Regions from separate parts of the Homo sapiens genome. Here region 1 is linked to region 2. Evidence: promoter capture Hi-C in human tissues and cell types (Jung and others, 2019). All regions are on one chromosome and are shown on one strand. Each heading gives the region's core, a stretch centred on a gene start or on the middle of the fragment in contact. The rest is flanking DNA. Distances are from core to core; before and after follow the strand shown. Region 1 has its middle 96 kb from the start of LINC03018. Region 2 holds the start of PENK (proenkephalin).

The links. Contacts are between HindIII fragments. The study calls those that stand out against the background at their distance.
Region 1: a fragment that was not itself captured here is called in contact with the fragment with the promoter of PENK in region 2 in 1 of the 25 tissues and cell types used here (dorsolateral prefrontal cortex).

What each region holds. Positions count from the first base shown.
Region 1 is chr8:57,648,493-57,651,922 of GRCh38, reverse strand. No RefSeq gene overlaps it. Among named protein-coding and RNA genes, the nearest start is that of LINC03018, 96 kb to the left of the region's middle. The HindIII fragment of the contact is 3,939 bases long and covers 100-3,430 here.
Region 2 is chr8:56,444,822-56,448,610 of GRCh38, reverse strand. PENK (proenkephalin) reads left to right here and starts at 1,970. Exons shown (of 4, transcript NM_001135690.3): 1 at 1,970-2,042; 2 at 2,130-2,185; 3 at 2,655-2,795. The coding sequence starts at 2,658. PENK-AS1 (PENK antisense RNA 1) reads right to left here and starts at 2,804. Exons shown (of 4, transcript NR_125813.1): 1 at 2,111-2,804. RefSeq lists an enhancer at 2,308-3,199. The HindIII fragment of the contact is 6,864 bases long and covers 1-3,776 here.

The DNA of each region.
Region 1 (3,430 bases), core at 820-3,319, 1.2 Mb before region 2:
TTAAAGGCAGCATCTTGAAGAATATTAGAATTCTGAAGAAAATATTAATGGACAGAATGTTGTCCTTGAACTGATGGCCTATAAGACCCAAGAACTGCTGGTTCAAGAGCCATCTGAGGATGTTTTCTGTGGTTTCTCTCACTTTGCTTTTTTTTTCTTCAGAGTCTAAGCATTGGAAGACTAAACTGATATGGCCCAGTTTTCTTTTAGAAATCTCAAAGATGGCCAGGCACTGTGGCTCACACCTATAATCCCAGCACTTTGGGAGACCCAGGTGGGTGGATCACTTGAATCCAGGAGTTCAAGACCAGACTGGCCAATACGGCGAGACCCCATCTCTACTAAAAATACAAAAATTAGCCAGGTGTGTAATCTCAGCTACTCGGGTGGCTGAGGCACAAGAATAGCTTGAATGTGGGAGGCAGAGATTGCAGTGAGCTGAGATAGCACCACTGGGTGACAGAGAGAGACCTCTGTATCAAAAAAAAAAAAAAAGAAAAAAGAAAAAAAAAAGAAAGGAAAAAAGAAAAGAAATCTCAAAGGTGAATTTTAAATGCGGGTAAAGATTTCTATGTCATAATAAAAAGATTTCATGAATAGAAGAAATCACTTCAATTCTGCACAAAATTTCCCAATTCCAGGACATAAATAGCACATGGAAGCTGATAAGCTGCCTCTCACCATCAGACTTACCATCCGGAGACCTGAACCCCAAGCCATGAGTACTCGTGGGAGCCATAGGTGATGTTTTTCCAGTATGTTGACTGATCTTACCAGACAAAGGCAGAGATACTTGCACTGACCCTCCAATGTCCAGGATGGCACACAGTATGCTAAAGGCACCCCAAAATGTTAATTTAAAGAGGAAAGCCTAAATCAAATCAGTCTTCAATGTAATTCCTGTTCATACTCTCCCTAGCTAAATCTCAATTAATAGACCAATAGGGCCAGCCAAAGTTTACATTAAACAAACACTTGCAGGTAAGAAGAGAATTGAGGATGGAGGATCATGCATAGAATCAGAAAATGGAGTCATTCAGAAAGCCAAGTTAATGTGCTAAAGTCTTCTATGTCTCTCTTCCTGCCTTCCACTTTGTGTGATGCATCTGTAATATTCACACTCTGTCTATGCTACAGGCTTAGTGAGTCATGGTACAAGTATCCAACTGGACTCTATTCTGTTTTTTTCTCTAAACAAGGGAGAGTTCATCTCTCTCAGTGATGACACAGTATTGCCCTGTCTCACTATCTGCCAAACTGATTATTCAAATTACTCATTACTGTACTTAGTGCTAATTCCTGTGGTGTACCTGGTAGTAATAAATACCATTTTACCTAACCAGTCTTTAATTAGGCCCAAGTCAATCCCTGTAAATGAAGCAATGTTCACAACACTCCTAGAAATTTATCTACAAAATTCACAAGAAACCATTTTCTACCTTTCCTCCATGCACATAAAAAATTCCTCCAAACATAAAAAATTAACAGACTGAATTATACTGTCTTGCAGATGGAACCCTCGAATGTTAGCATTTCTTTTACTGTTGTGAATGAGGCAGATGTTATCATCACACCAGCCATAACTTATATGGCATGATCCCCTCCTAAAGCTACTTTCTATTCTTGCCCCTTCAGGCCCTTTTATCAATAGGATCAGGGAAGGGACATAAACTGCTCACTATCACACAGAAATGGTGCCTGTCCCTATCTCATTCTGCTCACCAGTGCCATCTCCCACTTTAATGAGGCCTCAGCTCCTGAAATGGCACCTCTATCCTTCACTCCAATCCTCCACCTACTGCTGTGTCTCACACTTGTTCTAATCCTGGTTTGGGCAGGGATAAAATGTAGACTACTGCCATTAATGGCACTTTAATTATTTTTCATTTGTTTTGTTATCTACCTCTTTTGGCAACTTCTACTTTGTCATTTAGTTCACTAACTGACCTACACAGTACATGGTGTGTCTTTGTCTTCAAAGTCACACAAGATTCCTGAACCTATTCAGGGAAGAATAGAATTTCCTCTCTGTAAATCCATAATTTAACTAGAAGATTTAATTTCCTTCTCATGATCAGTTTCCCTTGAGGTTATATTCTTTTGCAAAGGGAGGTCAATGTTTAGTTCTGCACTCTCTGGCTTAGATCAGATCTTTATTGCCCTCCTGATAGACAAAGTACAGGAAGCAAGTCCATGTGTTCCAAGGTGGAGTTCAAGTTGGATAAAACAACTGCTTAAGTCTTCCATCTTGCATATTGGAAAGCACAGTTTCTTCTGGTTTCATCATATTAAAATATATTTTATCTATGACTTTGACTTATTGATAGAGGGAAAATATCAACACACTCAAAGAATGTAACAAAGACCAATTTTGGGAACTCTAAGTAGAGAAATCATAGTCATTGGTTTTCTGCAATCAAAGCTTGATTTATTGTAAAAGGGTCTATCTACGGTCTACACAAATCTAGTTACGAAGATCAGAACTTCTGATAATATAGAAAGAAAAGTATCTTGGATACAAAAGCTTTGCAATAGCTCTCAAAGATTATAAAAATAAAATTTAATAATGCAAATGAGAGCAATCTTGAGAAGGAATACACACACACACACGCACATGCACACACATGCACACACACACACACACCCCACCCTGGTTCCCAGGACCTGTGCCTGCTCTGGCCATTTGCTGTTTGCCCCTTCAGACCCATCCATTATCCCTCTCTGCTGTCCCTGGACACTGTACTCTAGGAAGTGCTTTAGCTGAGCTTCTTGCCCTCTGGCTTCAAGTTTGGCCAACAGGAGGTACCAGCAGGATATCATAGTTTGCGGATAGAGAAATCGAAGGATCTATTCCTTGAGCTCCCTCTCTACTGGACCAAAGATCAACAATGGCTCTGTTCCATGGCCAAAGCCCATAGGTCTTACTGAGTGATCTTCTCCTAAAGCTGCTCTCTATTCATGCCCCTTCAGGCCTAGGAGTAGTAACATTCCCTGGCTTATTTACTTATTTATTTATTAGCTCTGATGTGCATCATTATCCTCAGTTAATTTCCTTTAAATCTATCTGTACCTTTGTAAATCATGTCTTCATTAACCTCTCTTCACTTATCCCACTGAGTGTGTCATCTGTTTCATGCCAGACCCTAAGTGATCAACACCCATTCTTCTCTGCATAATTGGGGCAACATCATTTTTACCAACTTGTTCTGCTTAATCTCATTTCCAGCACTAAGCCTAACCTACAATGGGTATTAGGCAATCCCAATTCCTCCAACTTCTCAGACTCTGCATTACATCTGCCTCGTAGGTTGTTGGGGCCCTGAAACATGCTGATGTTTCTCTCTGTCATGCTTATCTGATGGGACATCCAAAGCAAAGACCATGATTTTATATCATGGGAACCGGACTTCTGCTTGGAAATGAACTTCTG
Region 2 (3,789 bases), core at 721-3,220:
TCAGCCTCCCGCTCCTGATTATGCGTTTAAAGTTCTTAGGTGATCCCAGGTTCGCAAGTGCTCAGCTATAGCAAGTTTCCTTTAATTTTAGGTAGAATTTGTTCATGCAATACTTTCGCACTGAGTACTGCAGTGGAGTCAGCTTCCTTTCCAAAGCCCAGGCAACAAGGAAAAATCTGAAGTAAAGACAAAAGCTCTCCTTTGCCTTGGGGAGAGAGTAAGGAGCTAGTAAGGGGCCCCATGATGAAAAGAACCTAAAGCGGGAAACATTGTGTTTTCCTGCTCAGAGGGTAATGCTGGCTCCCTAGGGCTATGTCCGGGGTTCTCCAGCCCCACTCCAGGGCTCTGCTTTCCCGACCTTGCTACCGTGATGCCCCGGCCGGGAGGCAGGCGGTGCTCGGGTGCAGCTTCGGGGCTAATCCGAGGGCTGCGTGTCAAGCCCGCACATTGAGGCCTGCGGAGAACTGAGACCCCAGTCCCCGCAAGCCCAGCCTACGCAGGAGAGCGCTGCCCTCTAGCGACTATAATGGGACATGCAGCGCGGCCGGAGCCCCGCGGGAGCAGCGCCGCTGCAGGTCCTAGCGACTGTAGAAATCAGCCCTTTGCAGAGGGCGCAGAGGGCCTGGAAACCTCTGGGACCTTTTCCCAGGAACTGTTTATGGTTTCCCCCTAGGTCTAGGAGACATAGATGCATAGGTGGATTGGATACATCGATGGTAGCTATAAGGTAAGCAGACAATGGTCACAGATGGAAAGGTGGACGGACGGATGACGGATGGTTAGAAGATGTTTTGAGGGCTTGCTATAGTGCCAGGCACAAGGCTAAGAGATTTCGTCCACTATTTCATTTGATTCTCTCCAGAACCTTATGAATGGCATATTACCTCTGTTCCTATTTTTCAAATAGGGAAACTGAGGCCTCAGGCAATGTAAGCAGCTTGCCGCTTAGCAATCTTTTGCAGAGCCAGGAAGCGGGAAAGCGTGTCTTAATGGACAGTACCAGCCTCCACAGTGTGCCCTCGGCCCCCTCCCGGTGGAGAAGAGGTTCCAAGCCCCGGCGTCCCGGGTAGGGTGTCCCTCATCCCTCCCTCCCCACCACACTCCTGGCGCGCTGACATTACACCCGCCCCGGCACCCCCCTCTCACTGATCCAACACCCCCGGACACCCTGGACAGCGCTCTCAAGGCAGTAGGTCTTCGACTTGGGAGCCCCGGGGAGCTGGTTAAACACGGATCCTCTCCCACAGTGGCTGAAAAGCGCGCAGTCCCGGAACCTGAGGGTTTACCTGCTTCTACGCTTGGCCAAGGGTCTCTAACTGGAAAGGTGAAAATTCTGTCCTGAGATTTTAAGATTCCCAGAAACTTTCAATCGTTCAGTTCCTGTAACCATTAATTGAGCGCCTAAACTGCGCACCTTGACGCTGTTAGATGCTGCAGTAAGGAACTCGGAGTCAAGTGTGGGGGACAGGTTGGTCAATAAATGACGACATTCCGGACGGCTGTGCTTGGTGCCCACGGGGACCCGCGAGGGGGCCCAGGGAGGAGGCGGGAAAGGGGCAGGTTCACCGGCCCGCTGGGTCTCCAGCACATTCCAGAAGTCTAAGCCAGTCCATCTATCCTTCCAAACGCCCCCACCTCGCTTCCCTCCCTGGAGCCCGCATCCCACGGTGCAATTTCAGTGACTTTATGCGGAGAAACTTGATCCTATCTCACTCTCCCCAAACTTCCTAACTGCCTTGGGTTTGTCACCTGGCCGTGTGGGGAGCCACCGAGCGCCCCCTGTGGCCCCCACCCGAGCTCGGCGGGGGGAGCGGCGCGCGGGTGCTGGGGGACCGACCCCTCCCGCGAAGGCGTCGGCGCGGGGCTGGCGTAGGGCCTGCGTCAGCTGCAGCCCGCCGGCGATTGGGGCGCGCGCGCCTCCTTCGGTTTGGGGCTAATTATAAAGTGGCTCCAGCAGCCGTTAAGCCCCGGGACGGCGAGGCAGGCGCTCAGAGCCCCGCAGCCTGGCCCGTGACCCCGCAGAGACGCTGAGGACCGCGACGGTGAGGCCCTACGTCCGCCAGCACACCCGGGCCCGCTTCTCCCCGACGCCCGCCCTCCTCACACTTGCCTTCTTCTCTTCCCTCTAGAGTCGTGTCTGAACCCGGCTTTTCCAATTGGCCTGCTCCATCCGAACAGCGTCAACGTGAGTGAATTTGCCCGAAGCTTGTCTTTGCTGAGCGGGTTTGGGGACGTCTGCCCGCCCTCTTTCCCTTCACATTTCATTGCATGGGTTCCCCAACAGCGTTCCCTGGTTCTTCTTTGTGACCCCAGTCAATGTCCTGCCTCCCCCGGCTCCCGCTCTCTCGCCCCTGGTCTGCGGCGTTCTCTCCGGAATCTTGCCCTGGGCCGCGGACGCCCAGGAAAAGAGCCGGGTGCCCCAGGCAGCCTCGCGTTGGGGGCGACCGCGCCATCCCGGGAACCGCGAGGCGATCTGAGTCGCCTCCACGTCTACCTAAAAGCTGTCGGCCGGGAGGGCGGGGCCCCAGAAAGGAGCATTCCTGCGGGCTTTTGCTCGACGATCCCCTGCTGAGGCTGTCGCGGCGAGGGTCCTGCCGAGGGACCCCGTTCTGCGCCCAGGCAGGCTCGAAGCACGCGTCCCTCTCTCCTCGCAGTCCATGGCGCGGTTCCTGACACTTTGCACTTGGCTGCTGTTGCTCGGCCCCGGGCTCCTGGCGACCGTGCGGGCCGAATGCAGCCAGGATTGCGCGACGTGCAGCTACCGCCTAGTGCGCCCGGCCGACATCAACTTCCTGGTGAGTGTTGCGCGCGGCGAGTGTTGCGCACCTTGTGAGACAGAGTTTCCGCAACAGTACGCGGACTGCCTCCGGCCCACCGCGCGGCGCGTATGGCGGTTCGCACCGGGTCGGAGCCGCAGCGGCGCGAGCCCGTGGTGACCTGGGTGTCTCAGCTGTTCCTGGAACACTGACTGAAGTCCTGCCCTGGCTCTTAGCTTCGGGGATCCGCGACTATCTGGGGACCGGTAAGGGTAGCGGTGTCGCCGCACAAACCAAGTTTGTTTTAACCCTGGGAATTCGGGAACCCCGAGAAGTCCTCTGTTCAGCACCTCGGATAGCACTGGGTTCTCTCCTGGGCTGTCAGAAGGAAGATGGCTGTCACCACAACTCCTAACATATCCCAGCTAAGGGCCCCTCCACACGCAGTCATCTTCCCATCTTTCCCACAAATAATGTAATTTTTTGTTAGTGACATTTCGGTGCCTTTCTTTAGATTTATGTTCCCCAGCTCTCTTAACCTCAGGTCCCTCATTCCCTACCCTCACCTGTAAATAGGAGAGAGCAAAGGGATGGAAAAGGGGTACGGGGAGAGGAAGGCGAAATAACCGTAGACAGGAAAGAGTTCAAACTGTCTCACTAGCCAGTGATGCTGGAATTCAACTTCTGTTTCAACTGCCCTTTGTAATAGTAACTAAAACAACAGTTTAATTTGGCTATGAGAAAGGAACAAGAGAAGTGGCCAGTGTCCAATGGGTGACAACAGTCCAAAGATACACTGCACTACAGGGGGTTGGGGAAAGAAAAAGCTGAGGACAAAATAACTTTCATTCTGATCATGGTTCCCCATGGGCTGTCGAATCACCTCTGGTGCTCTACTGAGTCTGAATCTCCAACCTCGAGACTCAGGTAGCTTCACTTTTACCAGCTCCCCTGACAATTCCTTTGCATTGCTTTTGAAATTTGTTGAAATTTTATGGTGACTTAAAAAGCTCATAGAGAATAATGTATTCAT